2 separate regions of the Homo sapiens genome follow, and region 1 is linked to region 2. Evidence: promoter capture Hi-C in 16 types of primary human blood cells and fetal thymus (Javierre and others, 2016). All regions are on one chromosome and are shown on one strand. The core of a region is centred on a gene start or on the middle of the fragment in contact, and the rest is flanking DNA. Distances in the headings are between cores, read along the strand shown. Region 1 holds the start of PCDHB6 (protocadherin beta 6). Region 2 holds the start of PCDHGB6 (protocadherin gamma subfamily B, 6).

Region 1 (4,159 bases), core at 151-2,650, 260 kb after region 2:
GTGTAGAAATTCTCCACGGAAGGTCTTAGTAGAAAGGGGAGATTGTTCTCTATTGAACAAATAACCTGTTGGTTATGTCCAGAGTCTGCATCTGAAACACTGAAAACTGCCACTGTGATCTCTGGTAAGTTTTCTGGGATGAGGCTGATGAAGAACGACATGGTGAGTTCAGGGGCATTGTCATTCACGTCCAGGACCCTGACGACTAAAGAGCATTTTCCTGATAGGCCTCCACCATCTGTAGCCTCAACATCCACGTCATAAGACTGAATTTCCTCAAAATCCAAAGCCTTTCTCAGCCGAATTTCTCCTGTGATTGCGTTTATTTCGAAGGGTTGGTTGACGTCATCGACTTGAAACAGGGCGTAAGATACCTTCCCAAACGATCCTGCATCTAAATCTCTGGCTGAGACGGTAATAACCAGAGAGCCGAGGGGGTTGTTCTCAGGGACTTGTGCTTCATAGAGCTCCTGAGCAAACTCGGGGACGTTGTCATTGATGTCCAAAACCTGGATCTGAATCTCGGAGGTCCCTGACCGGGGCGGAGACCCGCCATCCAGCGCGATCAGCGTTAGCCTGAGTTGGGGCTGCTCCTCGCGGTCCAACGGTTTGTCTAGCACCAGCTCCGGGAACTTCCTGCCTTCGCTGCGATTGCGGGTGAGAACGTGGAAGTGAGGGTTGGAGCTGATTGTGTACCTCTGAAGGCCGTTGCTGCCGGTGTCTAAATCGTGTGCCATTTTCAAAGGAAATATCTTTCCTGGCATAGTAATTTCTGATATTTTCAGGAGCATTTCTCTGGCAGGGAATTCCGGGGCGTGGTCATTTATATCTCTGACTCGCAAGGAAGCCTGAAAAAACTGCAAGGGGTTTTCCAGTAACACTTGGAAAGGTAGCACACACGGCTCAGTGGAGCCACACAGCTCCTCCCGGTCCAGTTTTTCATTTAGCAGTAAATCATGGGTCTGTGGATCAAACTGCAAATGTTGTCTGTTCCCTTTGAAAACAACCCGAGCGCCCCGCGAAGCCAGCTCCCCCACCCTCAGTCCCAGGTCCTTTGTCAAGTTGGCCACAAACGTGCCACTTTCTGTCTCCTCCAATACGGAATACTGAATCGATTCAGAACCCACCTCTCCCCAAAGCATCAATAAAATGAAGAAAGCCACTTGCCTTTTCTTGTTCTGTACTTTAGTTTGCATCATGTCTATTATGTCTGAATACGGAAGAAAAATCCTTTTCAGCTCCCAATCACCACATCTACCGTCGACCCTCTCGGATGTCTTTGCAGAGATTTTTAAATTCGTTCTTACAACTTGTCTGGCGACGACTGCCTTCCCGGACACATCTATCTCAGCTTTAGCTGTAAACGTGGTCTGTATTTTTACTTGGCTTCTGGATGAAACGGAGTCCACCGAGTCTGCAGAGCTTTCATTCACTCTCTTAGCTTGTACCGCCACCACGCGTTCAAACTAATAACTTCATGAGATGTTTTCAGGTCAATAGCATTTCAGAAATCTGAGCATTATAAAGACTTTTAAGTCGAGTCAGTGTTTCTCAAACTGAGTGCGTGGACCGCATGCATAAATAATTGCTTGCGAGCGTTGGTTTTTTTGTGTGTATGTTTTTGTTTTTAAGCCAATTCCTGGGTTCACTCCCCTCTAGAACTTGAATCAAATTCCCTGGTGGTGCTAATTAAGGAGAAAGATTGAAGTGCAGATTCTACACTTCAGTCTTTCTCCTTTGATGCTTCAGCAGTGCAATTTATCTCTGATGAACTATTTAATCTATTAGTCCAAGAGGTACACTATTTAATTGTCCCAACAAACAATGCAAAACAACGAAGTTTGTTAGCAACAATAATGGTAAAATAAACAATAAATTATCTAAATTATATGACTCATAAATGGCATGAAAAAAAAAACCTACTTTGTTATATAGTTATGCCTGCACAGTAAAAAGAACAATTAGGCTATTAGGAGGAAAACTGAGGCCAAGAAGTACGTATGATACATGTATCTAAGTAAATTAAAGTATTTAAAAGAGGGACTAGAAGCAATCAAGTAGTTGTCATAAGCATTTTAGGATTCTACTCCATTTTTGCATGGATAGAATTAGACATTGTTTTAACAGTCTTGTGCATTTTATTTTTTGATCAAATTCCCCTCTTACATTATTTAATCAAGGTCCAAATATATTACCGTGTTGTACAAACATGATGCAACACAGAAAACAAACATTCAAGAATCACCTTCACCGTCTTCTCACAGCAAAAAGAACACCAAGTCCAATAAATACAGGCCAAATTAAGGTACTGTTAAAACAGGTGAGTTACATTTGAGTGAATGCCATGGAATTCAATGATGGAATATTATGGCTATATCCATTCCCATCTCACTAGTTTCTACTCAGATACATTGGAACATGTATCTCTAAACAAACTGAAAATGTGTGAAATAGATTAGTGCACATAGAAGAGGTAAAATATGCCAAACAATTCAATTCATTTCAGATTAATTTCATATTTATTGAGAGGTGAAATCAATTGAGTTCAAACAAAGTTCACTTCAGGTAAGGGCCAAGGTGATAGAAGATTAAAAATCAAGATATTTTCAAATACATAAATGCTAGGCAAAACAAATAAGGCTAAATAAAATCTAAACTCTGAATAGCTGAGATGATCTTGTAGTTCAAAATCACCTCTATGTAGCCAGAAAAACAAAAGATTATGAATGTGACCAGCCTCCAGGGTTCACTTGATAGATGCTACTGGGAACACACTGTTCCTTGAGAATGTAACAAAATGAAATTATGAAATAAACCAACAATAATAAACATATTGGACTGGTGTCATCTCTTTGCTGAAACAAGGCCATTATTTCCTGCTCAATCTTAAATGCTTCCTTCTTTCGGTGAGCATTCTGAGTTCTGATTCCAGCTTAACGGCATCCACAAAGTCTTTTATTCACTCTGTTTCTCTGAAGCACCACCAGGCATCCTCGAATATAGGTTGTTGAATTATTTTTTTACGTCAGAGCAAATTTATCAGCAGTACAGTATTTGTCAAACTCCATTTAGATCCTTGAAATGTCTTTGATAACATTGGTAGTTATATAGAAAGAGGATAATAGCTCAAAGTACCCCAAAAAGATATCAGTTGGGTCTATCAAGAAACTGCCTTTTTATAGAAAATGGATTACGTTAGATTGTTTCAGGAGAATGTTTCTCTGTGTTGCCCTCTTTTGCTTTGATTTGATTGACTAGAGTAGAGTTGAATTAAGTTTGCATTCGTAAACATGTTCTCACAAGGACTCATTAACTTAAAATTTTTATTATGGAAAAATTCTAACATATACAAAGTAAACAGAATAAGCCTCTGTACACAATCAGTTTCACAACATTCTGTTGTCTTGTTTTGTCTATACCTTTCTCTCCATTCTCTGCTTCCCGCTTAATGATTACTTTTGTATAGTTCTTTTCTTAAGGCAATGTTTACAGAAATTGAAATGCACCAATCTTAACTGTACCATTTTAACAAATGGATTCATGTGTGTAACTCACACTTTTTTCAAGATACGGAACATTTTCATCATTCACTGGAAATCATCTTAATCATATTTTGAAGCTCAGTTTTGTTAACTGGGGAGCAAAACCTTGGTCTCATCTGGACACATGATGGAAAAGTAGACAATGTGAAAAAGCACCATGCCCCATATTCTTTATGCTCATGTATGCTAAAGTGAAGTGATAGATTAATTTAGCTGGACTGTTACCAGCAAGCTGAAATAGTATTTCAACTGACTGAACATTGTAAAGTATGTTAAAATTAATTTTATTTAGTTAGCCTGTAATGACAGGTTGAACAGCCCTTGTCCAAAATGCTTGAGACCAGAAGTGTTTCAGATTTCAGATTTTTTAGATATTAGAATATTTGCATGTACATACCGGGATATCTTGGTAATGAAAACCAAGTCTAAACATGAAATTCATTTAAGTTTCATATACATCTTATACAAATAGGCTGAAGGTAATTTTGCTTAATATTTTTAAACAATTTTGTGCATGAAACAAAGTTTGCATTACGTACTTATGTGTGGAATTTTCTACTTGTGGCATCAGGTTGGCTCAAAAAGTTTTGGGTTTTGGAGCAGTTCCTATTTTTGGA
Region 2 (4,076 bases), core at 1,569-4,068:
AATATCTTCAGTCTGGTGACATTATTTTACAAAAAGATAGAGCAACTTATGAACCAAATACATAGTGAAAACTATAATTGAAAAAACATTGAGAAAATATTGTAAAAAGCTATGGATTTTAAACATATGATTCTAGATATGAAAATAAAGTAGTATGCCTAAAATATGAGAAACTAGTAGACTATTAGATAAATCACACACAAAAAAGAGAAACTCACCGAAGTCAGAGTCTCAGGATGTGAAGTCAAATCCTCCCCACCATGAGGTGGAATTAAGGCTCCAGGAGAAACACTGCAAACCATGTCTTCATTGGAATGTAGGGGCACACTGCATTTTAGGAAATTAAACTCTTTTGTACCCGTATGTGCAATGCACAGATTATAAGAATAAGGCAAAGTCCCCTCACTGTAGTTGGGGGGAACTACAGGTCCAGACTTGACACAGAGACCAGGATGGAAGCAGTCCCAAGTAGCAGGGCTGAGAGAGCGTCGCAGGCGCAAGGCAATGGCCAGAATCACGGCGAGGAGGAAGAGCACTGAGATTAAGGCCAAGGCCACCACCAGGTAAAACTGCAGTTCAGCCTGGGGGTCAGAGAGTACAGGGCGGTCGCTGAGGTCTGGCAGTATCTCTTGCAAGTTGTCTGCGAAGACCAGATGAAGCGTGGCGGTGGCAGAGAGTGGCGGCTGTCCACCGTCACGCACAGCGACCAGCAGGCGCTGGCGGGCTGCGTCCCTGTCGCCTAAGGCTCGAGCCGTGCGCACCTCCCCAGTGCGCAGCCCCAGGCTGAAGAGTCCGGGCTCACTGGCCTGCAGCACGTGGTAGGACAGCCAGGCGTTGTGTCCCGAGTCGGCGTCCACCGCTACCACCTTAGTCACTAGGTAGCCGGGCTCTGCAGAGCGAGGTACCATATCGAAGAACGCGGAGCCGTCAGGACCCAGAGCTGGGTACAGCACCCGCGGTGCGTTGTCATTGCGGTCTCCCACCAACACGCGCAGGCTCACGTTGGCGCTGAGCGTGGGCGAGCCGTGGTCGCGGGCCTGCAGCGTGAGCGCGAAGGCGCGCAGCTGCTCGTGATCAAAGGCGCGCTGCGCGAACACCACCCCGCTCTGCGCGCTCACTGACACGTATGACGACACCGCCAGGGGCTCTAGGTCACTCGCCACTATAGAGTAGGAGATGTGGCCATTGAGCCCCAAATCCGGGTCAGAGGCGCTCACTTGCGCAATGGAGGCTCCTGGCGGGTTGTTCTCGGCCACGTGGACCACGTAGGACGTCTGGTCGAAAACTGGGGCGTTGTCGTTGATGTCAGCGACATACAAGGTGATGCTTCTACTGGAAGAAAGAGGCGGCTTGCCCCTGTCAGTGGCTACGATGGTGACATTGTATTCTGGTGTCTGCTCTCGGTCCAGGGCTCCATCTGTCACCAGTTTGTAGTAGTTATTGGAAGAAGAATAAATCTTGAATGGAATGTCTGTTTCTATATTACACCTGACTTCTCCATTTCCTCCGAAATCCAGATCCCGTGTTTTGAAGAGGGCAACAACCATTCCTGGAGGTGAATTCTCCAAAATCTGATCAGAGAGAGAAGTGATGATTATTTCTGGGCTGTTGTCGTTTTCATCAAGGATTTCTATGATTACTTTACACTGGGTAGAGAGACCACCTCCGTCCTTCGCTTCCACTTCCATGGTGTACCTTTCTACATCTTCAAAATCAAATGACTGGTTATTCTTAATCATACCTGTTTTCTCATCCAATGAGAACATATGTTTTGTGCTCTGGGCAGTGCTTCGGAAGTAGTAGTTTATCTCAGCATTGACCCCCTCATCCTGGTCAGTGGCTGTCACTTGCAACACAGGGGACCCAGGGGGCAGATTTTCACTAAGACTAATTCTATATTCGTCTCTGCTGAAAACCGGGGGGTTATCATTGGTATCCTTGACAGAAATTTCTATGTGAGCGGTGGCACTTCTTGGTGGGTCCCCTCCGTCCAAGGCAGTCAATATCAAGCTATGAGATCTCTGTTCTTCCCGGTCTAGGAGTTTCTCCAGAGATAACTCTGGGTATTTGCCACCATCGGAATTAACTCTAACCATTAATGAAAAATAAGGATTAGAGTTTATCTTATAATCTTTAATTGAGTTTATGTTTATATCAGGATCCGTGGCAGGGTCAAGCGATAGTCGTGTACCAGCGGATGCAGATTCGAAAATTTCTAAATGTATTTCCTTTTTATCAAATTGAGGGGCGTGGTCATTAACATCCTCAATCACCACAATGACATGAAAAATATTTAAAGGATTTTCCACCACAGCTTCCAATTGCAACTCACATCTTCTTCTCTCTTTGCATATTTGCTCACGGTCTATTCGGTTCTTCACAAGTAAGTCCCCGCTCTCCGCGTCTACGCTGAAGTGCAGCTTCTCCGCGCTCACTCGCAGCTTGCGAGCCGACACATCCAGGACACTGAGCCCTAGATCCTTAGCGAGGTTCCCCACCACCGAGCCCTTGGCCAGCTCCTCCGGAATCGAGTAGCGGATCGGCTCACTCAGGGTGGGGTAGAACAAAGGCAGCAGCAAAGGAAATAGCACCTGCCGCGGGCCGGCCCGGCGCCTCTGCGCGCAGCTCCCTCCCATCGTTCGCTCGGGTTCTCGCTGGGTCCCCGCTTTTCCAGTTGGAGAAAGTGCACTCTACCGCGCTAAAAGAGCATTCGGCCCAGGACAGGAGGAGTCCCGGGTCTCGGAGCTGGCAATCCGCTGTGCTGGGAAAGGTCTGCGCAGCCGGGAGGCTCTGTGTGGGAGCTGGTTTTCTTCTTTCTGTTGTTGGCTGCGCAGGGAATCCCAGGCCAGAGGCTGACGGATCCCCGGCGTCAGCGCTTGCTCTGCACTGGCCGACAGCGGCGCCCAGAGGCTCCGTGCGGGACAGCAGCCCGGTTTTTCATTTTGAATTCGGTCTCCGAAATGTATATATTCTTCGAAAATGCAGGTGTACATCCCCCTCAAATTTTGCTCTCACCATAATATTATAGTAGATATTTCTATGCTTTGTGTTTTAAATAAATCTATTATGCACAATTTCAAACTTATACAACAGTAGGGAGTATATATAGTGAACCTTCACATAGCCATCACCCCACCTTCAACAATGATCACCACAAAGCCAATCTTTGTTTAATATATACTGCGCTCCCCCATTATTTTTAAGTAATACGAGATATAGAATGTCAACCAATGCTTCTTTTTAAGATGAGACATTAAGGTCAAGAATTTTATCTTTCAGCTTATGTTCTACAATCTGTTACCAATGCACAATAAGTTAAGTCCTACATAGCCTAAGAAAAACAGAAATAAAGATTTTCCATACTCCATTCAGTCATCTGTCTGGTGAGCCTCGTGTTCTGGTTTTAAGGGCAAGAGACATTTTTGTGGTATCGAATAGTAACTACCTACCATGACATACAAGCCTTCATGGATATCTGTTATGTTTTCCCCAAATTAACATACATTTCAATATTTATAAATACTAAGTATGAAGGCTACTCCTCAGAACAGAAATTGTAACAATTTTCTTGTTGCATGGTTAAAAATATGAGCCTGAAGTATGCTTTATTTTTTTTGCTACCCACTTAAGGGGGAAAACGTGTTTGAAATAATTAAAATGTCTGTATGTCATAAAGGATTCCCAGACACTTCAGCTTTTTTTTCTTAAAAATAAAGCAACTGAAACCCAAATAATTACAAACAAATAAAACAATTCTTCATTTCCACAGAAATGCCAGCAGTCATCAGTGTATCTATGGATCACATGTTTAGCATAGAATTTTGAGTCAACTTCAAAGCTTATTTTCAAATGTCTTGTGAAATGTTATTTACTATTTGAAACAACACTATGTTTAAAATAACATTAAATAATACATTATTCTCTTCCTTATAGCTAAAAACAGTAAAATAGTTTTAGAATCTTCCCAGCAGTTCCTGAGAATATTTTCTTAAATTATATCTGATATGCAAGTTCATTTCTAGACTCAAAAGTTGGAGAATTGAGCCAGAAATAATATATAAGTGAGAGAAATATTT

The links. The method cuts DNA at HindIII sites, captures the fragments that hold promoters and counts their contacts. A CHiCAGO score of 5 or more calls a contact.
Region 1: the fragment with the promoter of PCDHB6 here is called in contact with the fragment with the promoter of PCDHGB6 in region 2 in 4 of 17 cell types (endothelial precursors, naive CD8 T cells, naive B cells and 1 more); the score reaches 7.2 in endothelial precursors.

The regions. Positions count from the first base shown.
Region 1 is chr5:141,147,298-141,151,456 of GRCh38, reverse strand. PCDHB6 (protocadherin beta 6) reads right to left here and starts at 1,400. Exons shown (of 1, transcript NM_018939.4): 1 at 1-1,400. The coding sequence starts at 1,199. It also overlaps PCDHB@. The HindIII fragment of the contact is 6,099 bases long and covers 1-4,159 here.
Region 2 is chr5:141,406,763-141,410,838 of GRCh38, reverse strand. PCDHGB6 (protocadherin gamma subfamily B, 6) reads right to left here and starts at 2,818. Exons shown (of 4, transcript NM_018926.3): 1 at 219-2,818. The coding sequence starts at 2,636. All of the region lies in intron 1 of PCDHGA1 (protocadherin gamma subfamily A, 1), which reads right to left. All of the region lies in intron 1 of PCDHGA2 (protocadherin gamma subfamily A, 2), which reads right to left. All of the region lies in intron 1 of PCDHGA3 (protocadherin gamma subfamily A, 3), which reads right to left. It also overlaps PCDHGB1, PCDHGA4, PCDHGB2, PCDHGA5, PCDHGB3 and PCDHGA6, and 6 more genes. RefSeq lists an enhancer at 2,360-2,409. The HindIII fragment of the contact is 5,535 bases long and covers 1-3,840 here.